Regions from separate parts of the Homo sapiens genome. Here all the other regions are linked to region 7. Evidence: promoter capture Hi-C in 16 types of primary human blood cells and fetal thymus (Javierre and others, 2016). All regions are on one chromosome and are shown on one strand. The core of a region is centred on a gene start or on the middle of the fragment in contact, and the rest is flanking DNA. Distances in the headings are between cores, read along the strand shown. Region 1 overlaps LOC105379034 (a long non-coding RNA gene). Region 2 overlaps ARHGEF28 (Rho guanine nucleotide exchange factor 28). Region 3 overlaps ARHGEF28 (Rho guanine nucleotide exchange factor 28). Region 4 overlaps ARHGEF28 (Rho guanine nucleotide exchange factor 28). Region 5 overlaps ARHGEF28 (Rho guanine nucleotide exchange factor 28). Region 6 overlaps ARHGEF28 (Rho guanine nucleotide exchange factor 28). Region 7 holds the start of ENC1 (ectodermal-neural cortex 1).

Evidence for each region. Contacts are between HindIII fragments. The CHiCAGO score rates a contact against its expected background, and 5 or more counts as called.
Region 1: a contact is called between a fragment that was not itself captured here and the fragment with the promoter of ENC1 in region 7, in 1 of 17 cell types (fetal thymus). The highest score is 6.0, in fetal thymus.
Region 2: a fragment that was not itself captured here is called in contact with the fragment with the promoter of ENC1 in region 7 in 17 of 17 cell types (naive CD8 T cells, naive CD4 T cells, activated CD4 T cells and 14 more); the score reaches 30.9 in naive CD8 T cells.
Region 3: a fragment that was not itself captured here is called in contact with the fragment with the promoter of ENC1 in region 7 in 6 of 17 cell types (activated CD4 T cells, megakaryocytes, naive CD4 T cells and 3 more); the score reaches 6.8 in activated CD4 T cells.
Region 4: a fragment that was not itself captured here is called in contact with the fragment with the promoter of ENC1 in region 7 in 9 of 17 cell types (neutrophils, naive CD8 T cells, total CD4 T cells and 6 more); the score reaches 11.9 in neutrophils.
Region 5: a fragment that was not itself captured here is called in contact with the fragment with the promoter of ENC1 in region 7 in 14 of 17 cell types (neutrophils, naive CD8 T cells, naive CD4 T cells and 11 more); the score reaches 19.6 in neutrophils.
Region 6: a contact is called between a fragment that was not itself captured here and the fragment with the promoter of ENC1 in region 7, in 1 of 17 cell types (monocytes). The highest score is 6.3, in monocytes.

What each region holds. Positions count from the first base shown.
Region 1 is chr5:73,978,741-73,982,543 of GRCh38, forward strand. It overlaps LOC105379034 (a long non-coding RNA gene), which reads left to right. Exons shown (of 4, transcript XR_001742745.1): 4 at 3,625-3,803. Among named protein-coding and RNA genes, the nearest start is that of LINC02122, 120 kb to the right of the region's middle. The HindIII fragment of the contact is 1,887 bases long and covers 1,004-2,890 here.
Region 2 is chr5:73,907,316-73,911,204 of GRCh38, forward strand. It overlaps ARHGEF28 (Rho guanine nucleotide exchange factor 28), which reads left to right. Exons shown (of 36, transcript NM_001177693.2): 34 at 2,097-2,582. Among named protein-coding and RNA genes, the nearest start is that of LINC02122, 190 kb to the right of the region's middle. The HindIII fragment of the contact is 1,520 bases long and covers 1,213-2,732 here.
Region 3 is chr5:73,871,906-73,875,544 of GRCh38, forward strand. ARHGEF28 (Rho guanine nucleotide exchange factor 28) reads left to right here. Exons shown (of 36, transcript NM_001177693.2): 22 at 1,094-1,341. Among named protein-coding and RNA genes, the nearest start is that of LINC02122, 230 kb to the right of the region's middle. The HindIII fragment of the contact is 900 bases long and covers 1,057-1,956 here.
Region 4 is chr5:73,927,741-73,931,329 of GRCh38, forward strand. The region is part of intron 35 of ARHGEF28 (Rho guanine nucleotide exchange factor 28); the gene reads left to right. Among named protein-coding and RNA genes, the nearest start is that of LINC02122, 170 kb to the right of the region's middle. The HindIII fragment of the contact is 5,300 bases long and covers 1-3,589 here.
Region 5 is chr5:73,888,359-73,892,177 of GRCh38, forward strand. It overlaps ARHGEF28 (Rho guanine nucleotide exchange factor 28), which reads left to right. Exons shown (of 36, transcript NM_001177693.2): 27 at 3,694-3,819. Among named protein-coding and RNA genes, the nearest start is that of LINC02122, 210 kb to the right of the region's middle. The HindIII fragment of the contact is 4,754 bases long and covers 1-3,724 here.
Region 6 is chr5:73,849,859-73,853,996 of GRCh38, forward strand. ARHGEF28 (Rho guanine nucleotide exchange factor 28) reads left to right here. Exons shown (of 36, transcript NM_001177693.2): 14 at 2,792-2,834. Among named protein-coding and RNA genes, the nearest start is that of ARHGEF28, 230 kb to the left of the region's middle. The HindIII fragment of the contact is 2,096 bases long and covers 1,244-3,339 here.
Region 7 is chr5:74,639,418-74,643,343 of GRCh38, forward strand. It overlaps ENC1 (ectodermal-neural cortex 1), which reads right to left and starts at 1,311. Exons shown (of 3, transcript NM_003633.4): 1 at 890-1,311. It also overlaps a transcript of HEXB not described here. RefSeq lists enhancers at 760-1,119, 1,581-2,296, 2,297-3,010 and a silencer at 1,160-1,419. The HindIII fragment of the contact is 20,564 bases long and covers 1-3,926 here.

The DNA of each region.
Region 1 (3,803 bases), core at 697-3,196, 660 kb before region 7:
GTACTACTGCTAACCACACAGACTTCTGTAGTGATTCAACAAGGCAGCACACATATGAAGGCCTTAGCAATGCTAGACACACAGGAAGGCCTCAAAAATATTAACTCATATTATAGCTAACCCTATTATTCAAAGGTAACAGATTCAGCAAAACTAAAATAGGAAAATAAAAAACTAGAGGGTATTAAATCTAGGTCTAGAATTGTGATTCCACTTCTTGAGTGTCCCTGCCAACCTGTCTTTCTTGGAGCTAAGAATTCTCTTCACATTCAGTCATGCATATCTGTCCATATTGTCATTGAAACACATATTATTGTAAAAGTATATCCAGAAAAGGTATTTTTAAGGTGCCCACATTTTCTATCTCCTGGCAGTGGAAGGACTTTGACTTCAGGGAAAATTTTAGGACACTGGGAAGGTCAATTACTCTTTTAAGATCATAATATCCTTACAAAAGGGTCCCATATGACCAACCAAGAATCACAGTATATGAAGCACATTCACCTAGAGATGAAAACTATTCATTTCTGACTCTTGTAGACTCCTAAGTGTTCTAAATATGATGTATAGCTGAAAACAAAGTTTAAAAGCTGATTTCAGAAGAAACCATTAAGCATATCCTGAAAGAAATCAGTTGATTTTACCTATTTGGGAAAACCTTTCAGCACAGAGAAGCGTAAAACAGAATGGTTGTCCTTTTGCAAAAAGCTCGTTTTGCAGGAGTCAGAAGGAGAAGCAGAAAGGCGGGTCTGCCAATGGCTTGAGATAAGTCTTTGGGAAAACTGCAGGCAGCCTGAACCTCATAAAGAGCTTATCCAGAAAGAGACATGAATATGATTATCCCTGGCTTTCAAGAGAGTGCAATAAACCAAGCTGGAAGATTGGTTTCTTTCTCTTCAGGCATGAGAGTGAAAGGCATTACCCCTTCCCCATGTCTCCCCACCTTTCCACTGCCCACCCCAATTTGAGCAGGCACAAGATTGCCTATGAAAAGTGCCATCAAAGCTTCAAAGACTCACTAGAGACCACCAGTTTCTGACCTCTGGTCAAACAACTCCAATGTGTGATGTGCCTGTTTCCCACGGACTATCCACGTTCCCAGCTGGGTTTGTGGATAGTGGAATTGGGTTTGTCTCAACTCCACACTCGTCAGATGGTTGTCTCATAGGAAAAACCAGCCAAGGGATATATATTTTGGGAGGCTGTTCTCCCAGAGGGTTAAGGCCATACAACCAGGCTCCCAAAACAGTTTAAGAAGAAAGTCACCCTGGAGTGGTACTGTTGGATTACTAATACATCTACTGCTACCCAATGGCACTCTTTTTTTTTTTTTTTTTTGAGATGGAGTCCCGCTCTGTCTCCATACAACCAGGCTCCCAAAACAGTTTAAGAAGAAAGTCACCCTAGAGTGGTATTGTTGGATTACTAATACATCTACTGCTACCCAATGGCACTCTTTTTTTTTTTTTTTTTTTTTTTGAGATGGAGTCCTGCTCTGTCTCCCAGGCTGGAGTGCAGTGGCATGATCTCGGCTCACTGTAGCCTCCATTTCCCAGGTTCAAGCAATTCTCCTGCCTCAGCCTCCCGAGTAGCTAGGACTACACACCCGGCTATTTTTTTTTTTTTTTTTTTTGTATTTTTAGTAGAGATGGGGTTTCGCCATGTTGGCCAAGCTGTTCTTGATCTCCTGATCTCGTGATCTGCCTGCCTTGGCCTCCCAAAGTGTTGGGATTACAGGCATGAGCCACTGCACTCAGCCTTTTTTTTTTTTTTAAATTTAAAGCCATAGTAGTCCTTAAGAAACCTCCCATTTAGAAAAAATGTTGAAAAGGTGGAGAGGGACTAGAACACAAAGGACTCATGGAGGGACTGGGAAGGACACATCTGAAACAGTAATTCACAGCATGAAGGTGCCAGGCCAGGTCTGGAAAAGATGCCCAGTCCAGAGTGAGAGAGCAGCACACAGCAGGCCCCCAAATAGTTCAGCTCCAGTGGCCATGCCCTCCACCAGCAGCCAGCTCATAAGGCTTTCTCTGTCCCTTCTCTTCCTCCTTTTATCCCTGGCTCCCATCCTACCCAACCCTACTGGAAAGATGAATAAAAAAAGTTAAAAAGGAAAAAGAAAAGGTATATTTATTAGAAATGTGTTCGGCTGTGAGTAACTAAAAGCCCACTTTATGGTGGCTTAAAGAGGGGTCCATTTTTCTCAAAGCATAACAAGTTTGGATATTTCCTGACTTTTGTCAGTGGCTTGGTCCTGGCTAAGGTCTTTGTGATTCCCTTGGCTTTCCTGACATGTCTCATGGTCACAAAGTGGCTGCTGTAGTTCTAGCTATCAAGTCTGTCTTCAAGGCACAGGAAATGGGAAGGGGATAGGGAGGGACCTGTCCCTACTTGCAACATAGCAAAACTTTCCATAAGTGGCCAGATTTCTGCTTATGTCACACAGTTCAGTACAAAATCCCATCACTTTCTCGGCCACCAGCAAGGCTGGGAAAATGGTGGCAAGGTAGAAGAGAATGGATATTGGATTCAATCAGTCAGTAATGTTTACCAAAAGAGGCAATGCAGAATCTATTAAAAATGAGAGATCTCCCCCAAGAGATTTCTGGGCTGCACCCTGGTTGATTCTGATAATCATCCAGACTAGGGAGCCACTGGCCTATGTAAAAATCTCTGCATCCCCAACAACCTAGTTGGGGATTAATCCTATAGACAGTGAGTACTTGAAAATTAGAACATCTGACCTTCTTAATCTTTCCTGGAAGGAAGGAGACTAAAATGAAGTGAGCCAGTGGTGTGCATACGCTGTTCTGCAAGGTGATAACATCTAGGGACCGGAGAAAGAGCCTTTATCCTTTTACAGGAGGCTGTAAGATAATAGAAACCAAGCTTGTTAACCAATAAATAGACGAGAAGCCTTGGGACAAAGGCCTTCTTTTTGGTAAAAATCAGAAGTGAGCAGGAAGGACTCACCCTGAAATTCTCAAACGTGGAGAATTGGAGAGTGAGTTGTCTCAGGGTGCACATAGCTGGACGGTAGTCTCCATCTTAGGGCAGATGGTAACAGTCCTTCTCTCTTCATGCGGCTCCTATATGCCGAGTGCAGGCACTTCACTTGGTTATAAGAAGCTTTAAGCTGCAACCAGATGCTTCCCTTTTCCCTTCCCTACCACTGGAACAGATGGAGTTAAGCTCTAGGCTGATTTCTTGCCCAGAGCACATGGTCCTCTCCTTCTTGTTTCTGCTGATGAGAGCTTAGTTACCAAAGATCTGAGCTCTAAGCCCTCCTCAAAAGCAACAGCTCAGGGAGGTGCTGACCAAAGCCTGTGGTTCAAATTTTAATACAGTGTCTTCGGGGGAGCTGGGAGGACCTATATTCAAATGAACTGAGGACTTCAGTTGCCTCTTGTTCAAGATGAAGAATCCCGTTGGCTCAGAAGGGGAACCCCAACTTTCAAAGCCATTTTTCCCCACGTATATTGATTTTTCCATAGTGTCAACTGTCATTTACCAGGTAGGCACCCGCCTGCTTCATTGTCCCTTGGGTGAGTGAAGACATCACCACTTGTTAATTGCTCACCAGGCACTGGACCAAACTCAACACATTAATTTTCTTACTAGGCTCAGTGATGGCTTGGCTGAAGAAGACTTCATGATCACTCCCATTTTGAAGATCAGCACATTGAGGTTCAGAGTGGTGAAATGACTTGAAGTTCCTGTGGAGAGTAAATGGGAAACATCAGAGGAATGATTTGAACCCTGGTCTGTCCACCTTCAGTGCCCATATTTTGTCCTCCATG
Region 2 (3,889 bases), core at 723-3,222, 730 kb before region 7:
GCCCTGTGTAGATTCAAGGTTCGGAAAAGCTGGATCACCTGAATGACCTAATTTTTGCAACACATTAGGTTAAACCAACATGGGAAATATCAAAGTCTACAGTGAATTATTTTAATCTGAGCTGGTCCAAGGCCATGGGCTTTGAAAGATTTCTGTTCATGGCACAGTCGTCTTTTTTGAAGCTGAATGTCTTATATGTGACTGAAGTTTTTACATAAACAATTTTGAATCAGGTGGAATGAAATTTGATCCCTATATCAGGAAAATAGAGTTAGAAATGAGGCATAGACAGGGCTAAAAGGAAAAGACACAGATATTCTAGCAAAGTAAAGTTAAGAGAGTGAATTGGGAATTTCCCTAAACTTGAAAAGCAAGTGCTGTTCTCTGTCCTAAATATAAATGTAAACTTTAAGTGTGAAGATTATTCATTTAGCTTTAAATGAATATTTAAATTTAGATGAATATCCGATCTTCAGATTCCAGCTCTATGCAAGGGAAAAGAATGGCCTTATCCCAAATGTTAGATAGACATGAAGAATACCTCACAGAAGCACTTAATTACTGTAGCTGTAACTCTTACGTGAGAGTTATTGTCTGTGGTAGTTTTGACATATAAAGTATGGGATTTTTGTTTGTCTTACCATACTGGTCCCTAAAGATTTATTAGAATTAAGTGGTGATGTATAGTCTACAATTTTCTTTAGCCAGATCAACAGAGTCCTGAGTGGCTTATTGTGTGCTAATTATTTCATATTTAAAGATCATAGTAATTAATACCTATTCTGGATGATAATCATTGTTTTATTTATAACAACTCCCAAAAGCCACTAAATATTCATGTGTCTGAAATTTTAAAGATTAGTTTCCAAATTTAAAAATATGAATTTTTGTTCAAAAGGCCCCAGTGAATACATTTTTGAGTCGTATTCCAAGACAAGTATGAATTTAAAATATACCTTAGTTCTTTAACTTTCAAAAGTATAGGAAACTGCTGAGCTGACAAAGAACATATGGTCAAATCCCCATCTTCCCAACATCTGTTATATGGACAGTTTAAAAAATTCTTAGGAAGGAAAAATGTGAATTTATCCCTAGGAGAGAAATGATTTCTCATATGGGGTCAAAACATACACACATACTCAGTATGTGTCCATTTTCAATTTGTCCCTTCTGTACTGCTTTGCACTCTAAATGGGAACTTTTAAAATTAAAAGCTTCCAAGGGCATTCACAGAGATCTCTTTGGTTTTGTGGAATCCTTCCAAATCTTGGTAATTATTTCCTGTGATGTTGCCAAACTTTTCATAGGCAGATACCGTAACTCAAAATGTTTTTTTAATCTGGTTGGTAATGTCCTCTGGGCTTTAGAGTATCTATTTTCCCTTAATCATTTCAGCCTCCTGTTAGCGATCTATTAAACAAATAAATTTCAGCTTAGTTTTTTGTGCATGACCTTCCTGCTATAATACAAAGATATAACAGTAATGAGACTAGCTTTAGCCACTTACATATCTCCTAAAAATGGTATTAACTGCTATTCTTAGGCATTATGTTATAAAAACATTATTTACCTAAAGTCTCCAAATAGTTGTTTTTTATTTTTATGTCTTCATAATGCAATGTAGCTCAAGTAATTTCTGGTTTGGGACTCAAAGGAAGGATACTACTAGGTTTATGTGGATTCTTAAGTTCTCATGAATGATTGACTAGGGAGAGACCTCAGCAAGAGAGTGAGATGTAGGACAGGAATGCACAGCCTTGTGAATTTATGTGCCGAGTTCGTATTCAGAAGACTCGCTTAACTATCACCCAACCACCAGCAGCAAACTACCTTCCCACAGGAGAGGATGATATTGCTTTTGGGCTTTGTTTCTTTTCTCTATAAATTCACAGGTCCTACCCCTAGGACAGATGTAGACACACCTCTCTGGAACGCCAAAAACCTTGCCTTTGGAGGTAACTTAGAAAAAGGCCAGAAATATTAAGAGAAGTGAATTCGGGCCTGCGTTTTGTGTTTCGAGGTAGTTCCAACCGAAAGGGTAAACAATAACCATGGAACCTTGTGTTCAGTGATTTTTCCTCTGTCTGCTCTGACAGGCCGCCTTGACCATTCAGGACAGCCACATTGAGATCCACAGGCTGGTTCTCCAGCAGCAGGAGGGCCTGTCTCTCGGCCACTCTATCCTCCGAGGCGGCCCCTTGCAGGACCAGAAGTCTCGCGACGCGGACAGGCAGCATGAGGAGCTGGCCAATGTGCACCAGCTTCAGCACCAGCTCCAGCAGGAGCAGCGGCGCTGGCTGCGCAGGTGTGAGCAGCAGCAGCGGGCGCAGGCGACCAGGGAGAGCTGGCTGCAGGAGCGGGAGCGGGAGTGCCAGTCGCAGGAGGAGCTGCTGCTGCGGAGCCGGGGCGAGCTGGACCTCCAGCTCCAGGAGTACCAGCACAGCCTGGAGCGGCTGAGGGAGGGCCAGCGCCTGGTGGAGAGGGAGCAGGCGAGGATGCGGGCCCAGCAGAGCCTGCTGGGCCACTGGAAGCACGGCCGGCAGAGGAGCCTGCCCGCGGTGCTCCTTCCGGGTGGCCCCGAGGTATGGACCTTCTGCGGTGCTGTGAGGCAGCCTCTCAAAGACAGGGGTGGGCCTGGGGGCTCCTAGGACACTAACCAAACATCTGTCATTTTGGATTTGTGTAAGAAGACCTCATGAGGATTTTTCAATTTGTAGGTAGCCAAAGCTGGAAGCTTTCAGAGATAACGCATATCCATTTTGACTTAAAATATGGACAGTGCGGGCCAGGCGCGGTGGCTCATGCCTGTAATCCCAGAACTTTGGGAGGCCGAGGCGGGAAGATCACCTGAGGTTGGGAGTTCGAGACCAGCCTGGCCAACATGGTGAAACCCCGTGTCTACTAAAAATACAAAAATTAGCTGGGCTTGGTGGCGGGCCTCTGTAATCCCAGCTACTCAGGAGGCTGAGGCAGGAGAATCACTTGAACCCATGAGGCGGAGGTTGCAGTGAGCCGAGATCACGCCATTGCACTCCAGCCTGGGTGACAAAAGTAAAACACCATCTCAAAAAAAAAAAAAAAAAAAAAAAAAGGACAATGTGAGGGCCCAAGTCCTATGGGATCACTGCACTCTGCCTGAGATGCCCTTACCCTAAGGAACAAACACAGAATCAAGTTGTCCTAGAAAGGCCAGGGTGGGTTTGTCCTGGAGGCACACTCACTGCGAGCGTGCTCTTTTTCCAGTATTTGAAGGACTCTCTTTATATGATCTGTCTTAAGAGTTCTATTAGATGTAGCTTTTAGAAGATCAATTAACTATGAATATATACTATAGGCACTGAATTTAGCAAGTATAGTACTATTCTGTTATGCTGAGCTTCTTCTCTCTTTGTAAATTTGATATAGTAAATTCAAAATCCATTTCACTAATAAGAGTTATTTATTTGTGTCTTTTCTAATCATGCTTGAGAATCCTATTCGTCCCAGAAATTTATTTTCCTGTGTTATGTGCATGTATGTTTTTTTACTGATAGTGCCTAAAGTTGTAGAAGTTGATAAGCTTACAAGATCTCTGTTGCAATCTGTTTTTCCTTTTAAGTTGGCTAAATTATGTTTATTGCAAACTCCTCATGTATATATGGATATGTTTTCAACTTTTTTATTTAGCAAAAGTAAAAACTGCTGCTTTCTCTGATTAAAATAAAGTGGAAACACTTTAATGTCATAGAGTGCCACTTTTTTTGTTGTTGTTGTTAAAGATATGCCATGCATAGCAAATTGAAGTTTTTGGTACTAGCTCATTAAAAGAGTATGGGAGAGGGGAGGGAGAAAAGAAGTGGTAATCTTGACCTCACTTTTACTGAAATCTTGATTCCTAAGATTCTCTCAG
Region 3 (3,639 bases), core at 257-2,756, 770 kb before region 7:
TCATCCTAGTTGTAATATGTATGGGTACACCATTCCTTTTTATGGATGATGAATATCCTATTTTGTTTTCCTAATCATCAATTGATGGACATTTTGGGTTTTTCCACTTTTGGGGTCATAGAGTAGTAGCTTTACGTTTAATCACTTGAGAAACTGCCAGACTGTTTTCCAAAGCAGCTATACCATTTTGCATTCCCACCAGCAATGTATGAGGGTTCCAGTTTCTCCACATCCTCACCAATACCTGTTTGTTGCTTTTTTATTATAACTAGCCTAATATGTGTGAAGTGATGTGTCATTTTGGTTTTGATTTTCATTTCCCCAATAGCTAATGGAGTTGAGCATCTTTTCATGTTCTTATTGGCCATTTGTATATCCTTTTGGAGAAACATCTGTTCAAATCCTTTGACCATTTTTGAATTGGTTATTTATTTATTTATATTGTTGAGTTATAAGATTTTTAAAAATATACTAGATACAAGTTCCTTATCAGATAAATTATTTACAAATATTTTCTCCCATTCTGTGCGTTTTCTTTTCACTTTCTTGATGATGTCCTTTGATTGATTGTGATGCATTGTTTTCCTCTGGAGAAAGTGGAATTTTGGAGACAGATTCTGCCATAGAAAGGACCTATGGTTATCTGCATTGAAGAACTTTCTTTAGTTCCATTCATTTCACCAAATTAATTGTGCTCCTGCTCAATGCAAAAATCAAATAAAGAAAGGAAGAAAGAAAGCCAACAAACTAAGTTGTATTTCATAGGGCATTCAGGGTGGAATAAGACCTAGTTCCTAGCTGAAGGTATCTAAAGATGCTAGCTAGTTATATTATTGAGTTTCAGATACGTTAGATTCTTGTATATTGGACTTGACATATATGTCCTCTTTAATATCTGGATAAAAGAAAATGGTTTAATATTTTAGAGTGAATGAAATGTTTAATGTTGACTTTTATATTGGAATATTCTTGATATTCCTAAACATTTCTTTTTTATTTGCGTAACATATAGTGTTGAGTTACTAATTTAGTTTAATAGCGAAACTTGCTTTTTAAAGCTTGTTTAAGGCTTATGTGTGCTCACACATTTCAGAGCTAATGCAAACAGAGATGCATCACATCCAGACCCTGTTCATCATGTCTGAGATCTTCAGGAAAGGCATGAAAGAGGAGCTGCAGCTGGACCACAGCACCGTGGATAAAATTTTCCCCTGTTTAGATGAGTTGCTTGAAATCCACAGGCATTTCTTCTACAGTATGAAGGAACGAAGGCAGGAATCCTGTGCTGGCAGCGACAGGAATTTTGTGATCGACCGAATTGGAGATATTTTGGTACAACAGGTAAGAAGAGCTTAAAGTCCTTGACCTTTATGACGTAAGTGGGATTTGAATCAAAATCTGCCCTTTCATCAACAAGAGTAAAAAAAATGATATTTTGAAACATTCATAGTGACATTCTGAGGATGTGTTTACCATCGTTAGATTGTAACTCCCAGTAAGGCAGGGATTCTTGGCTATTTGATTACTGCTATATTTCAGCACCTGGAACAGTGCATGATATTATAAATATTTATTGAATGAATGGGCCACTTAAGGAAAAAAAAATCAGGAATTCACCTGAATGTCACGTTTTACAGTGGTCTGCAACACTTGGAAAGGCAGGGAGCTCCATCTGCAGTTGCTTTAGCATGGCTTTCCCTGGGTAGATGCTAGAATGCCATCTTCTCCAAATGTACTGTTTTTTGAAGCTGTTTCATCCTATCATTTACAGCGATGGAGTTCAGCTGTTGGTCTGTATGCAGAAAATGGGGGAGTTATGCTGAGTGGTATTCCATGCTATTGATATATCACTGTTTACTCATTCACTTGTTGAAGGATATCTTCTTGTTTCCAGTTTTTAGCTCTTATAAATAAAGCTGCTATGAACACTCAGGTGCAGATTTTGGTGCAAACCTAAGCTTTCATTTTTCTGGGATAAATGCCCAGGAATGCAATTTCTGGGTTGTATGGGAGTTGTATGTTCAGTTTTGTAAGAAACTGCTAACTGTTTTCCAGAGTGGTTGTACCATTTTACATTCTCATCAACACTGTACAAGTAATCCAGTTTCTCTACATCCTCACCAGCATCTGATATTGACACTATTTTTAATTTTGGCTATTTTAAGAGGTATAAAGTAATATCTCATTATGGTTCAAGTTGCACTTCCCTCATGGCTAATGATATTAAATATCTTTTCATGTGCTTATTTGCCATCTATATATCCCTTTCAGTGAAATTTCTGTTTATGTCTTTTGCTGATTTTCTAATTGGATTGTTTGTTTTCTTATTGATGAATATTAAGGTTTGTTTACATATTCTAGACATTGGTTCTTGTCATATATGTGATTGACAAACTTTCTCTAAATCTGTAACTTGTCTTCTCATTTTCTAATTTTGATGAAGTCTAGTTTATTTTTCCTTTTAAGAATTGTGCTATTAGTTTCAAGTTTTTTTATTTATTTTTATTTTTTTGTTATTATTATACTTTAAGTTTTAGGGTACATGTGCACAATGTGCAGGTTAGTTACATATGTATACATGTGCCAAGCTGGTGTGCTGCACCCTTTAACTCGTCATTTAGCATTAGGTATATCTCCTAATGCTATCCCTCCCCCCTCCCCCCTCCCCCCACCCCACAACAGTCCCCAGAGTGTGATGATCCCCTTCCAGTGTCCATGTGTTCTTATTGTTCAATTCCCATCTATGAGTGAGAACATGCGGTGTTTGGTTTTTTGTCCTTGCGATAGTTTGCTGAGAATGATGATTTCCAATTTCATCCATGTCCCTACAAAGGACATGAACTCATCATTTTTTATGGCTGCATAGTATTCCATGGTGTATATGTGCCACATTTTCTTAATCCAGTCTATCATCGTTGGACATTTGGGTTGGTTCCAAGTCTTTGGTATTGTGAATAATGCCACAATAAACATACGTGTGCATGTGTCTTTATAGCAGCATGATTTATAGTCCTTTGGGTATATATCCAGTGATGGGATGGCTGGGTCAGATGGTATTTGTAGTTCTAGATCCCTGAGGAATCGCCACACTGACTTCCACAATGGTTGAACTAGTTTACAGTCCCACCAACAGTGTAAAAGTGTTCCCATTTCTCCACATCCTCTCCAGCACCTGTTGTTTCCTGACTTTTTAATGATTGCCATTCTAACTGGTGTGAGATGGTATCTCATTGTGGTTTTGATTTGCATTTCTCTGATGGCCAGTGATGATGAGCATTTTTTCATGTGTCTTTTGGCTGCATAAATATCTTCTTTTGAGAAGTGTCTGTTCATATCCTTCACCCACTTTTTGATGGGGTTGTTTGTTTTTTTCTTGTAAATTTGTTTGAGTTCATTGTAGATTCTGGATATTAGCCCTTTGTCAGATGAGTAGGTTGCAAAAATTTTCTCCCATTTTGTAGGTTGCCTGTTCACTCTGATGGTAGTTTCTTTTGCTGTGCGGAAGCTCTTTAGTTTAATTAGATCCCATTTGTCAATTTTGGCTTTTGTTGCCATTGCTTTTGGTGTTTTAGACATGAAGTCCTTGCCCATGCCTATGTCCTGAATGGTATTGCCTAGGTTTTCTTCTAGGGTTTTTAT
Region 4 (3,589 bases), core at 385-2,884, 710 kb before region 7:
GTATAATTCCTAAAAATGTTTAAGTTTAATTTCTAGAAATATGGAAGAGGGACCTTTATTCTTATAACAAACTTAAATGTAAAAAGAACACCTGAGGGTATTCATATCTGCACTAAACGAAACACAGTCTATATGTTAGGTTGTACTTTTAAGATTATAATCATTTACGAGTGACAAACGCAAGGCTGTGGCTGTGGTTCGGAAAGATGTTTCAGGGTTTGGTTTCTTAGCAGATGTCATTTCAAACAAATAAGAATTAAAAAAATAATGTTTTTCATTTTTAAAAGGAAAAAAGTTTTATGTTTTCCTGAATACTGTGAATATCAATTTCTCAAACCAGAATAGGTATGTAAGTTCTTTGACATCTCATAATTTTGTAGTTGATAAAGAGGAAAAAACAATCATTTGTAGACCTTAGAAGTACCCCCAGCACTTCGGGAGGCCGAGGCCAGCAGCTCATTTGAGGTCAGGCTTTCGAGAGCCTGACCAACATGGTAAAACCCCGTCTCTACTAAAAATACAAAAATTAGCCAGGCATGGTGGCAGGTGCCTTTAATCCCAGCTACGTGGGAGGCTGAGGCAGGAGAATGGCTTGAACCCGGGAGGTGGAGGTTGCAGTGAGCTGAGATCGCGCCACTGCACTCCAGCCTGGGTGACATAGTCCTACTCTTTCTCAAAAAACAACAACAGCAAAAAAATTAAAAATTAAAAAGAATTGGTTGCCAATTTTTAAGAAGTCTGGTAATAACATAATTATTAAGAAGCAGGTAGAACTAATTAGCTTGGGTGTGTTAGGTTTAATTGCTTGCCTTCTTCTCTGGCTCAAAGAAAAACATTGCATCTTGTATGCTTAAGAATTTTAACAGCTGTTTTTCCCTCTACTGAACCAGTAAGAAGTAAATGCAGCATTAAAATTCCTAGGTTGATTTCCTGCCTTACTCAGCTGGCAGAGAAATGAATTTGATTTTTCTTCTCTCAGCAAAATGAGAGGCATAACTCTTTTAGTGTGGGTAGGGTTGTGAGGCAGGCCGCTCCCCAGAAAGTTGGCTTTTTTGCCAAGGTACTTAGAAGTCCCTGGTCTCTAGAGCCTTAAGAGGAATTCAGAGTCATGAGAATACTACCCCATTCTTGAGGTTGATGACCTGTATGTCATTTAATTCAGCGCGCTCAGAAAAAGTTCTGACTTCTTTTTATTTATTTATTTATTTATTTTGAGACGGAGTCTCGCTCTGTCACCCATGCTGGAGTGTAGCGGTGTGATCTCAGCTCACTGCAAGATCCGCCTCCCAGGTTCATGCCATTCTCCTGCCTCAGCCTCCTGAGAAAAGTTCCTACTTCTTAACAGAGACTCCAAGATTGACTATCTTAATTTGTTTTGATTATTTACAAATTGACTTTGACATATTTCTTGTCTACCTGATTGTATTATGGACAATTTTAAACATATACAAAATTATAATATAATAGCCACTCATGTTCTGATCACTCAACTTCAGAAAATCAGGAACTTATGCCTAATTGTGTTTCTTCTAGACTCCTACCCCCAATACATACTGTATTATTTTGAAGCGGATCTTAAACAGTATCTATAAGTATTTATTCATCCATAAGCATTTCAGTATTTGTCTCTAAAAGATAAGGCTCTCTTTTTAAAATCATTATCACACCTAAGAAAAAGTTAATAATTCCATAATATCAACATATAGTCATATGTTTAGATTGCCAGTTGTTTCACAAATGTTATGTGTGTGTATACTTTTCACAGTTTATTTTTGACTCAGGATCCAAATAAAACCACACAATTGTGTGCAGTAGTTTAATACATTCTTTAATATGAAAGTTTTAATCGTGAATATTTTTAAAGTATAGAAATTATGTATTAGGCATGCAATTAACAAATGTTTCCATTTTGCCATATTTATTTCAGATCTTCGCCTTTTTGCTTTTTTAGAGAAATAAAATGTTACAGATATTGCTAAAGGCCCTTACCCATATCTTTTCCTTTGTTTTTCCTACTTAGGGTTAGCAAATATCTTAAAGTTGGTGGATATGATTTCCACAGTATGTGTCTGTGTTACCGCTACATTTTTATAATGCTACATATTTATATCTAAAAACAAAATATCATAATTTTTTGTTTTTAACGCTTATATAGCTATTTAAATATATATGTACTTTCTGCAACTTGGTTTTTTTCATATTCATACATGCGACACAAATTGCTCATTTTAAACTGCTATATTTCACTTTAATGAAAAAATTTTAGTATATTTATTACTAAGGAGCATTTACGGGATCTTACCAATTTTTTCCTATTAGAAGTGGAGAGCAGTAAACATCTTTTTATGCACATCTCCTTAGTCACATGAATGAGAGTTTATTTCAAGTATAACACCTAGAAGTGGTAAGGATGTCTTCACTGTTGCCAGCGATGATTGATTTTGCTCCAAAGTTGTTGTACAATATAACTATCAGCAGCAAGATATGAGAACTCCAGTTCCCCCAGATCTTACCCAGCTCATAGCATTGTTAGGCTTCTAAAATTTGCCCATATGCTGGGCATGAAATGGTAACTTGTTCTTTCATACTTTTCTGATTACCAATGAGATTTAATATCATTTCATTTTTATTGGCTGTTTAGGTTCCTCCTTCTGTGAATTTCCTGTTCATAAAAGTTTTTTCTGACTCACAGCAGATTTTGGAGTTTCAAATGTGTTCACTCTTAATTATATAGACAAGTTAATTCTTTTGGGATAGCTTTAATAGATTTTGTACTTTGAGTGGTTTTCAGAGAAATCATGTTTACAATGACACGTGAACACTTTAAGATTCGAAAAGGACATTCGTGAGAACTAAGCTCTTTCTAGGTGGAGAAAACTCAACTGCAAGTGCAGAAACTACTCAAAATGTGATTGACTATGCTGTTCCATCCTACTGAGACTAACCATCTGCCTTGTTTTTTATTTGCATACCTTCTCCCTTACTCCTTGCTATGTTTTCCTCCAAAGCTCCTATGCCTCTCTCAACTTATCAGTGTTATTTTACACATACTCAATATAGTCAACATCTATCCGCTTCATTTTCTTTCCTGGAAGTTTTGCCTTTAGGGTCCTCTGTACTTCTGTTCCAATATGGACTTGTTGCTCTCCAGGCCTGCTCTGCGTGGTCACCCAGGGCCATCCCTTCTCTCTCCTGTGTTGAAACCTCTGTGCCCTCAGTCTCATGCTTCCCCTTTATAGTATTTTCCTTTATTTGGTTGGACATATCTCCAGGCCCTCCCTAAGAAAAAGTCTGATTAAAGGAAATTTTTTCCAGATTAGCTGAAATGTCCTTCTCATTTTATTTTTGCTACTCTGACACTTGTTTTTTAAATAATTTGTCTGGGCTTAGAATTCTAGAATACAAAACTATTTTCCTCCAGCCTGTTGCCAAGGGTTTGACTCCACTTTCCAGGGTTGCTATTGAGAAGTCTGATGCCTTTCCGATTCTGGGTTCTTTGTTTGTAACCTGTTCTTACTTTCTGGATAATTTTAGAATTGTCTTTTTTGTCCCCTTATCTGAATTTTATCACATGTTTCAGTGAGGTCTT
Region 5 (3,819 bases), core at 98-2,597, 750 kb before region 7:
CCCAATCAATTTGAACTGTATTACAAATTTCATGAAAACCTATTGGTTTGTCCAGCAGCTTCTCAATGCTGTTACCTGAGATGCTTGAGATTCTCTTAAAGAACCTGAGAAATAAGTGGGAAGGTGGGGACCATTTTGTTTAACCTGTGGGATGGTGAGGGCCATGTAGGAACAGGAAACAAATTCACATCTTTATAGAAACCAATGCTTCTTTAAAACCAAAGACCTAAAAGAAAAGCAAATTCTGCTTCTTGGATGATATTACCGGACAGATGTCCTGCTGACTGATCATGAAGTAGATAATATAAATACAACTACCTTGTTTTTTAGGACGAGGTAGCATATGGATTCAGATCCTGTAATGCTCAACTTAGAGCGCGCCTGGAAATATGATTCTTTCCCTCTTGTCTCATATGACCTCCTGAGGCATTATCTGTGCTACCCATAGACAACATTTACCATTAAGTGAGGTATTAGGAATGCAATCCACCAAATGGCAGAATGAAGACAGTTACAACCTAGCTCTTCTTGGTGGAATGTGTTTGGCTATACTGATACTATTTCTTAAATGTGTTAACCTGACATGTAACTGCATTCATAAATGACAGCTAAGCCCTTGGTGGTATCAGAGAGCAAAAGAGAAAGCATCATTTTATCCTTGAAGAGTCAGGTGCACCCTACTGTTCATACACTCCTGAGTTACATCTATCTGACAATAGCCCATGTGTCACAAATATCTTATAGTTAACACTGTAGGAAATTGAAGCATTTGGCTAGGGATATACAGATATCTGGATTTCCTAGCTCCCATCCTAGAATTTTAGAAAGTTTTCCTCAAGCTAGTACAAGTGAGATTCTCCACTCCTTGTGCCCTTTAGAAAACACTTCTTCCCTAGGTGCTTGTCTTGCTGCATGTTACAGAAAACGTGATGAATTTGGAAGTAGCCAGAAGATAAGCAGTTAAAGTAGCAAGAGGATGGAGTAGTGGGTCCCTACAAGACAGTTTTGCTTTGTTTTTGTTTTTATAAAGGACTCAGCTGGAAATTGGGGCAGAGCCCAAACCTACAAAATGTGTTAAGAAAAAGTAGATGTGTTCACTAAGTCTTAGAATACTGAGTCTAGGAGGAATCTCTTGAACATCAAAGAAGGCAAATTCAAAAGGAGCAAACAACCAAGACAGTGAACATGTGGACCTGCAGGCTGAAGTTCCAAATAGGAAGCAGCTTTAAAATCTCTTTATCACAATGCAATCCCTGGATAATAGAATCAGCACAAAATGGATACGGTGTAACAATACAGCTAAGCATGGCAGCTCCTTTCATCTTCTCCTACATTAGAGGTCTTCAACTCCTAATGCCTGTAGGCATTGGGCAGAAATGTGATTGAGTGAATGTGATAGGGTCAGAAGCAATGAGACAATAGAAAGTTGTAGGGACTGTAGTGAAAAGTGAGTCTGTGCCCTGTCTCAAAGATGTCAGGGATTACTTGGCTATAGCCAGTGTTTTAAAATGAGAATATGGGCCCAGGATTGCTCATCTTCTGCTTTCCCCAAGAACCCAGAAATGTAAAGTTTTTAAAAAGTGAAATCCTCTAGTATTTAAATGCTGAGAACTGATTTTTAAACTTTGTTTGTTAAATGCCGTGGCACAAATAAAACATCTCTGCAAGCTGGGTTAGCCCTTTGCATTACTAGTGTTTGACATCTACCTCCAAGGCAGACATGGTACTTCCATTCCTGGAGAGTTAATTTGAATGTTTGTTCATCTCCAGTGTTTGTGCGTGGTTAGTATGAATACCGATGGACAGGTTCCCATGCCCCCTGGTCTGATGGTGATCGAATGAATGCTACTTTCCTTGCACTTACCTGTTCTTCACTTTGAAAAGATCTTACCCTGCCACCTCCCCTCCCCTGCAACACTAACCAACTGGTTCAAATAATTGCACTCTTGCTCATGTCTTAAGCAAGTAAACCTACTCTGCCTTTTTACATACAGAGGCTGTTTACCTTGTCAGCTGAGGAAGCTATAAAGTACATTGCACATTGCATCAGGGAAACAGATAAGGGAGTAGGTCCATAATAGAATAAGCCAGATTAACAATGCTCCAAGGATCTCCCTAATTAGAGAGGGCAGTATTCCAACAACTCTGCCATGGGGCTGCTTTTGCTTCCATTTTCAGAGGCTGAGCACAGGCTGTATAGACTAGTGGTCTTGTCCCATTATATTTTTACTCTCATGCTACTCTGAGAAGCGTGGGGTGAGGAGGTACTCTGGGTCACCATGGCACACAGCCTCTGATATGGCCAAGCTGTATGATGCTGGGAAAGCCGACAAGCCAGCACCAAGGAGTCAGCAGTGAGGGAACAGTGGCATGTTCTGGATAAAGGCGTCGCTCAGTCCATGATGGTGAAGCAAAACCACACACTGCAACCAGCTCTGTAAACACTGGTGGAAGCCACAGACCAAAGAAGAATTCTTCATATTATCCCCCAAACTGTTCATCTTGAAGTCATTCTTTTGGCCATTCTTTCAACTACATCTACCTACCAAGCATCATCAGTGTGCTGTTCCTCTTTGAATCCCCAGTGTTTAGAAAAAGACATTGGAGGATCACAGTAGATGTTGGTAGAAGAGGTGGTTTAATCATGGCGTACATGCCAAATTTTAGACTTTCTTCCTATTACCCTGTGGTGGACTTATGTGAAACTAGTCCTACCAACATTTATTGAGTGCCTACTCTATGCTTGGCTATGTGCTAGGTGCATGAAGATGAATGAGACCCATTCCCACCCACCAAGGGCTCATCTGCTTGGTGAGAAGAGGCAAGAACTTGTAGACCATTTTGTTGCTGTGACCCACATGACAGTAGCAAAAAGGATTGGTTACGCCTGGGGAATCAAAGGTCTTGCCACTTATTCGTATCTTTTGTAGTCACTTTTATAGTCCATGGGCTGGGCTTCTGAGTTTCTGGGCTTCTGTTCCGTCACCTTATTGAAAGAGTATTGCAAGTCTAATGGACTTTTTAGGGCCTCCCTCCTTCTCAGTCTCTTTGACATTTGACATAGTTTCCTATCTCATGCTCTCTTAGAAAAACTTCTCCTGCCTTGACTATGGCATTTTGATATTTTTCTTCTCTGATTGTTCTGTCTTTTAAAAAGTTCAGTTTTTAAACAACCAATTCCTTTTTTTTTTCTTTTTTTGAGATGGAGTCTTGCTCTGTTGCCCAGGCTGGAGTGCGCTCACTGCAACCTCTGCCTCCCAGGTTCAAGCAATTCTCATGCCTCAGCCTCCCAAGCAGCTGAGACTACAGGCGCACACCAGCACATCTGGCTAATTTTTGTGTTTTTAGTATAGATGGGGTTTCACCACATTGGCCAGGCTGGTCTTGAACTGCTGACCTCAAGTGATTCACCTGCCTCGGCCTCCCAAAGTGCTGGGATTACAGGAGGGAGCCGTTGGGCCCGGCCTAAACCACCAATTCTTAAGGATGAGCATGCCTATAATTCCTCTTTTTCCATCCTCTCTTTTCCATACCGTCTCCATTGGAGATTGTATCAACTTCTACAGCTCTTTTGAAAAGATTGGAAGTGGAGAAAGGTTTACCTAGTACTCTTGCTTCCTTTAGCTCATGTTTTACGGAGCCTTACTTTAGCTAGGATGCTGTTTCATCTGCTCACCTTCCTATTTTATGTAGGATCAGAAGCCATCAGTTATTTCCCTTCAAAAGCTTATTGCTAGAGAAGTTGCTAATGAGGAGAGAGGAATGTTTCTGATCAGTGCTTCATCTGCTGGTCCTGAGATGTATGAAATTCACACCAAT
Region 6 (4,138 bases), core at 1,042-3,541, 790 kb before region 7:
AAAGTATTCATGCCAATGCATAATACATAGCATTATAATGAAATTTTTGTCAATGTCTTAGAGAATATCTTTATTGTCTATTATCCTTAAGGGACTTAAAAGATTCAGAAAGCAAGAGATGAACTTAAGTACTCTGAAGTACTACTCAAATATTTTCTTAAGATAAAATATTTAAAATAGGATTTATTTTATTCCCTCTCTTTTTTCTTATTCTTGCTTATTAAATTGTTATTTTGCATTTTTATGCCATGCAGAACAATACTGAAAACATAATCTTGGTGCTTGAAACAGCTATCCTAGAATAATGACATATATGCTAGATGTTCAATAAATATTTGTTGAATGAGTATGAGAAAAAGATAGATAAAACACAAAAGAAATGCTACCATGATTTTTGTTTTCCTTTTTCTGGGATGTACTGTTAGAAGAGAAGAGAGCAAGACTGATAATACATGTCAGTTTTTATTTTTGGATGGGGAGATGAAGAAAAGTTACAAGAGAAAGAAAGGATACAACTACCTTGAGAGGGCAGGATAAATAAGATGGATTGAATTTGTTCTGGATTTTTGTTTTTTACTTCATGGGTTCTTTCTAGGTCTCCAGGTCTCCCCAGCCTTAGTTTAGGTTGGTGTATTTTTAATAGCTCGACACCTTTTCACTGATAGTCCCAGCTGATGAATTAACCTCACATTGTTACTATTTGGAAAACATGTTTAAGTTTTCTGTGCTTCAAATTATGGCTTTGCCTTTAGATCTGTGGTCCTTGATCTATGAAGTCAGATATCTCTAGAGTTTGAAATTATTGACCACACAATTAAGAGGAAACTTATTGTTCACAAGGGAAAATAGCCCTAATTTACTTATTCTTTAATGATCAAGGAAGGGTGTCTTTACCTTACATGCAAGCCTGAAACCTTTGCATATGAGTTAGAATAAAAAGCTGATCTCAACTGCTTTGGTTTTCAGTAAACGAAACCTTATCTTTAGACGGTATATTTAAAGACAAGGCTACTTGAGTGAAGTTTGATACTATCCAGAAGGTAACAGTTAGAACCAGGCAATTTAGGTTGAGTCTACTCACTAAATATATGAAAATTCCAGTGGATAGACTTATATGGCTGCAAACATTTGGATTGATACCATTTAGGTCAGTCAATACCATAGGACTATGAAAAATAAATTAACCACTAATGAAGAAGGAATAATTTTATCTGTGTTTATGTAATCAAAGCACAAATGTGAAAGCTTGCCTAATGCAAAGATATATTCTAATGTTTCATTGTTTAGTCGGCTTGGATTAATCAAAAGTAAATTGAGGTTTGTGTTGCCATAAATCCTTTCTTGATGAGTTTTGAATAGTCCTAAAAATTTTCAGGTCTATTTGAACAGAGTCCAAGTCTCCTTATGTCCCAGAGGGAAGCTCCCATATGAGAGCTGTAATGCAGATATACAAACCTAGGATGCTTTCGGTCCTTTTTATTATTATTTGTGATGTTCTGTCTTCCTTGTCACTTCCAAAGAGTTACTTACTGTAATTTCTCATGCGTCTTTTTTTTTTTTTTGAGCCAAGAGTACGATGATGGCAACTTTATTTTTGATGTTTGTATACATAAAACAAAATCCAGTTTTATAATTCCCTTTGGTCTATTATAGATTTAGGCAGAAAGGAACATTGCCAATATTAAAATGATAACTACAGTCTCACCAAGGGGGACAAAGGGGTTCAGCATTTAAGAATTTGAGGAATGACGTAAACATACTTTTGAAAACGTTGTGAGCTGATGGATGGAATTTAATTGGATTTTGAACAGTTGGTGGCTTATTCTCTTGGTACTTCAGCCTATTTACCATAAGAATAGTGAGTTCTGCCTATGACTTAATTTGAGGAACACTTGATAATGGCTATAAAATAAAGGCTTCAAATTCTTCAAAGTAGATTTCCTATTACATACAAGATAGTATTAGGTGCAACATTTGATATTACCCATTTCAGGGGATATGTATTTGTTTTCCTCCTTATGTATCATTTCCCTTTGCAACCTAGTTATGCCTCTTCACTGTTCTGGATTGTGAGAGTGAAGGATTTGTCCCTGCCCTGTAGATGGTGTGCTCCACAGTGACTGCCCCCTCCTTCAGGCTCTCTCACTGTCTAAATCAGTGTCTCTACTCCACCCCTGTAGTAAGTATTTCAACTCTGGAAACAAGATGGCTCCAAGCTGCTTGCATGAACCTCCCTTCTGGCCCCCTCCACAAGTCCAATGAAAAAAATGGTCCTCCCTTTCCCATGAGCCACAGAGCACATCTCTGAACTTGCTGCTGCTAGGATTTTATGAGGACATTGCAGCTATATGAAAATTAACTCTTCTTATGCTGTCCTTCAAGACTTCATTTGAGCTTTGTTTAAAAGCAGTTATTTATTGGTTCTGTATGTTAGGGCATTAGTGTTATGAAGAATAGGGATGACTCTAGTGAAAAGTATCCAAAAAGATAGAGCTAATTTTCTGCACTTCTGAAAATGTTTGCTGTCCCTTGCTGATGCTAACTTAGTTCATGAAGTCATTAAATGTTGGCATATTTTGGCCATGTTTCTCCCTACCCTCTTTAAATTACAGAAAGTGATTTAAAAAAATCCAGAGCAATGCCTTACTTATATAAGGTAACTCATTTTCTCATTATTTTCTAGCTGGTAGTGTGTATAATGATACAATATGGTTGAGTATGCATTTCAGACTAACATATGACTGCCAGTTTGTGTGCCTTAGTTTTCATTTTATTGTTCTGTGTCTTGTAGAGCAAAGAGCTTACAGCTTATCGGAGCCACCAAGAGAAAACAGGTACTTTTAACTATTCCAATTTTCCTGAGGAACTGCATGATCCTTCTTTGGAAATGTCCACACATCATTTTTGCTATCTGTTCACTAGTTCATGAGAGGTTTCCATGTAACAAGCCTGCCTAAGACCCTTTGCTCCCTCTGGGATCTGTATCAGGATAGATCTGCCAGCCCTCCCCTTTCAGTCCTTGGCTGTGCAGGCCTCAGGATTGGGGACAGCATGTTCTGTCTGGGTATCTTCAAAGCCAAATACCCTCAAGGGGAGCAGTGTGAGGGGACCACCTGTTTTAGAAAGACAACATGTTTTCTCCAGCTCTATTCCACCATGACAAGGGGACTTACTTTAGTAACAGAACCCTGGGTGGTCAATGATAGAAAGTGCCTAAACATCCCTACTGTCTCTCTATGGATTTTTGCCTAGTAGCCCTTCAGCTGGAAACAAAGAATAAACAATGCAGAAGACTTTTAAGCATGATCAGTTTCCTGGTTGAGATGCAGATTTAACCTAAGCTTCTCTTTCTCCTAGAAGGTAAAACTGTTGTTGGAGTATAGCTTGGGAAGCAGACCAGTGTGCAAGCATGATTGTTGGTTTCTGTTGGTGTTGAATAACTAACTGCCCATGAGTCACACTGTGAAATAGCCCCAGGGTTGTATGCAAAACAAGTGCCAGAATGGCACACATGTTTGACTTTAAGAGACCATCTGAAAAGAGTGAAATGGTTTAATTTTGTTTGAGATTAATACTAAAACTTTGAAACGTTTTAAACGTTTTAGTATACGGATCAAGATGGGGTGTTTCGTTTTAAATCCTGGAATCAAAGTATTAATAAGAAAAAGCCTCCTTTGGATCATTTCTATTTTTTTTTTGAAACCAGAATAGAAACTTTCAAATGATACAAAAGAGGAAGATTAAGAATGCCCTTGAAAGATAGGATGATGATCAAGTTGACTTCGTGACAATGGCAATGAGGATGATGATAGCAAAAGCAGTAATTACTGACAAATATTGAACATTTGTATGTGCCTTGTACTGTTTTAAGCAGTTTACATTTATTATCTCATTTAAGCAATTTACTTCCTCATTCTGGAATTTGATCTTCATCTTGGTCATCATTTTGATTAACAGTCATCTTTTTAACAACTGGAAAAATAATGGATTGTTATCAAGAATTTTTTAAATTAAAAATATAAAAAATATTCATTTGTCATTAGGAGAGAGATTTAAGACCGAAGGAGCCAATGTTATACTTGGCTAAATAGTAGCCTATAAAATATTTTCACTTTGATGGCATCTTTATGAAGTTTCT
Region 7 (3,926 bases), core at 61-2,560:
GTGAACATCAAAAGGGCTTCAGTTACAGTAACTTCAGTTCACTTCATGCTCCTAACTCAGGCTCTCTGCCTCCAATGCTTAGCGTCCCGCACCCTTCTCCAGGTTTTGAACCTGATCTCAATCCAATCAAAAGAGAAACTAAGCAGATTTTTTTCTGGGCATTTACATTACCGGTAACAATAGAACATTATAAAGATCTTGTTAACAAAAGTAGCTTCTTGCCAGAGTCTTTTTATTAACACTTGCAACGCTATTTAACAAGCTGGCCATGCCTGTGTGACACCAAACCGCATGTGGATAAATTCAGTGTTTCATCTCCAGGCCCACCAATTCCTATCCTTTGTAACTAATAATGTTAACACGACAGATCAAGAAACTAGTTTTTCAGAAAGCAGTTTTCATTCATTCTCTATAGACATTTCCGCCGCAGTGAACATGCCCGCACTCAGGGTGTCTGTGCATGGCCCCAACTTTCCTCCAAGCCGGGGAGGATGCAACGTGGGCCAACCATCCCGCGCGCTCGGCCCTGGAGGCTGCGGGGAGCGACGCAGCGCGACATTCACCCCCAGGAAAGCGCTGCTTTCCGCAGAGGAGAGAGGCTGACTGTATCCTTAGCTCGGCTCCTCGCTTCCCCAGCGGCTCGCCCCAGACATTGCACCGCGGAGGGGAGGCCGGTCGACCTCTCCGGCGATGCCCGGCTTCTGCCTGCTGTGGGAGGGCAGCGGCGGGCACCGTGATCTCCGCACCGAGAAGAGCTCCCCTTGCCCTCTAGTCGAAGCTCCCGAGTGCTCGGAGCACGCTCACCCCTCGCGAACACACCCCTGCAGCCGAAGCAGCCCCTGAAGCCCGCAGCGCCTGCAACAGGTCCGGGGCAGTGGGGGAAACTTACAGCAGTGGCGACTGGCCGCAACGCACAACTGAGTTCTAGCGACGGTCACGGGCAAGGAGGCGACGAACCGGTCGTCTCAGCCCAGGGAAGCGGTGGCGAATGCCCCGGAGAAAGGAGGGCCAGCCGGGGAGAGGACTGCGCCCCGAACGATGGCTCGCGGACCGGCTACCGATGGCGTTCGCCTCCGTCTGTCGTCCCCACGCCGCGGACCCGGTGTCCAGGACCCGCAGAGCGTCTCCGGAGCGCGTCACGGTAGGGCAGAGCAAGCCTGCCACTGCAGGCGCCGCGGAAGGAGGCGGGCTGTGCGCTCGGGGGAGGGAGCTAGAAAGCGCCTTGTGTGCCGGCGGCCGCCAGGCGTCTGGACCGGGTCTCCGCAGCGCCACCGCCGCACCGCCTCCTCTCCGGCTGCCAGAGCAGTCTGCGCCCCGCCGCCGTGCGCCCCGCTATAAGTGGCGCGGCGGGGAGGGGAGGGGGCGCGTATGCAAAGAGACCGACACCGGGGGAGGGAGGAAGCGCATTAGCGCGGCCTGTGGTGTAGGAGGAGGAAGAGGAGGAGAAGGAGTGGGAGGAGGAGAGGAGCTAGAGAAGAGCGTGTCGGGGGAGTTAATCGGGAGAGGAAGCGGGAGAGGGGGGCTGCGGGGAGTGCAGAGAGACAAAGCGGACGCACTGTCTCAGCCGCTGGCAGCTGCAACCCCGGGAACCGAGAATAAAATAAGTTTTCCCGGGTTCGAGTGTCTGCGCCTCTTTGGGCCAGCCTGGTTAATGGACAGCCCCGGATCTGAGGGACCCACCTTAGGGGAGCGCAGCCCGGGGCTGTGCGCTTGGTGATGCCAGAGCCCGCGAGATGCTCTAAAAAGGGCTGCAAGGGGCGAGCTGGGTATCCGCAGGACAGGCCCTGGGCACGCATAGACAGCGCCTTGGGTAGGACACCCAGAGTGGGGAGAGATAGTGGCAATGGACGGGCAAAAGTCTGGACAGTTTAGGGACACTCGGGTTGAGCAAGCCAGGACGTTTAAGTTTCTTGCTGGCAGAGAGCCAAAGAGACTCCAGCCCCAGGCATTTCCTATGTGTCCTCCCTCCCCACTCCCCAGTGGGTGCGGCACCCCCGGCTGGACTCTGCCCTAAGCCAGGCGACTGCAGGGGCAGCCGGGGCGCAGTCCTGCGGGGCGCGCACCACGTGCTTTTCAGCCAATCGCCGCGGCCGCTTGATTCAAAGTGAACTCCTCAAAGCAGCAGCCACGCCGCCTCCTCTCCTAGCGATTAAGCCTCCATCACCTTCTCCTGTTTTTTATCGCTCGGTGGTGTTAGTTTGGAGTTCAGTAAAGAAATGGCCCAGCACACACACACGTTTAATAGTCCCGCGTGTCAGGAGAAGGGAAGGCGATTCGAAAAATAATCTCGCGTGGTGATCACTTTTACGAATCCCATTTATCTTTGCAACTAGAGGCTTGTCTTTCCACTGGGAGTTAAAATATCTGTCTTTTATTCGGTATTTGGAGCTAAGTCTATAAATGAACGGGATAGATGACCGGTCCAGCCCCCTTGTTTTACAGGTGGGGAACCGAGGCCCAGGGAGATGTGAATTGCCTGGCTCGTAGTCACTTAGCAACAATGTCCCAGCTCTGCAGCTCGAGAGTGAGGGCCCCACGACAGAGTTTATTCCGTCCCCGGGTCCCCGCGTCCCCAAGCGCCCGCGCTTCGCCTCCCAGCTTGCTTTAAAACACTAGGCGCAGGAGCGATTTAAACTGGCTAAGGAGGCCCCACATGGCGCTTCCAGAGTCCAGACTGCTGAAACCAAGACTGTCAGTTCTTCATTCTAATTTCATTTTCCTTTATCCTTGTTCCTTCCTGGTATTTGCGCCGAGAAATTTCGCTCCTTGCAAACAAAGAAAGACAGTGCCCTCTGAAGTCCTTTGTTAGCATTAACTCGGCAGCCTCACCACGAACCTTTCAATATATATATTTTTTAATGCAGAGTCTCGGCTTGAGGCTGATTCACAGAGACAGCCCGGATCAATTCATGTCAAGAACCACGTATGGAGAGCCAGGGGGGCTGCGAGGTTAGGAGAGGGCTGGCAAGCAGCACCCAGGTTCTGAAGCAAAGACCAGACAGATGGAAACTCTGTAGACTCCAGAGATAGGTGCTGAAAAGATGGGAGGCGGAAATGTGTAACTATTGCACATATGTCTTTTTAAAACATGTTTCTGTAGCCTGTGGCAAGGTGTGGGGGAGCTCATCAAGGCAGCCACCAACGCACCTTTTAGACACCTCCTAGACCCACTCTGTCTGCTTCCTTTGTGAGTCAAATCTACCTAAAACGGCACCTAGATGACCTTGCCTAGAAATGGACTATGTACATAGCTCAGCTGGTTGGTTGGGGATTTTGCCACAGGAAGCGACAGAACTAGGGACAGGTATGTATCTTTACCACCTAGAAATTGCGGGATGTCCTTAACCAAGGGAACAGCAAAGTTCAGATCCCTTTGCAAAGAACTTTGCTAAGCAGGCAGGGCTGAGAAAGGAAAGAAATCCGCTGGCCATTGTGTCACCATCCGCTGGTGCCACTTTCCTGTATCTTTTCTACCTAATGTTGCCACTTTCTATGCTTCAATAGAAGAAAGGGAAAAAAAGCTGTAGACTGGAAAATCTTGAAATGCATTCAGTGACCGTATACATTCGCTTCATCTGCCTCGGGGAGATAAGCAATACAAGAGAAAAGAAATTAGCTTATGTAAGTCCTAAAAACTGGAAAACATTTTCCTGCTGAAAGTCACAAGAACTAAACTTGCAAGTTTGGAAATCATGGGTGCTACTGATGACCTCCTACAAACTGTACTCTGGTTTGCTTGAGCCAATCTATGACTAGTTTTCGGGCAGTTGGGCAGTTTTTAATGCTTATCTCAGCTGAAAATGATTTGCAAGTTAGCAAATTTATGATCATAGCAATTCAAACGGTGTAATCCCACAGCATCTCTCAGCCAATCCTAAAGGTAACTCTTATCACCCCACTCACACAAAGAAAAGCTGAGCAAGTCT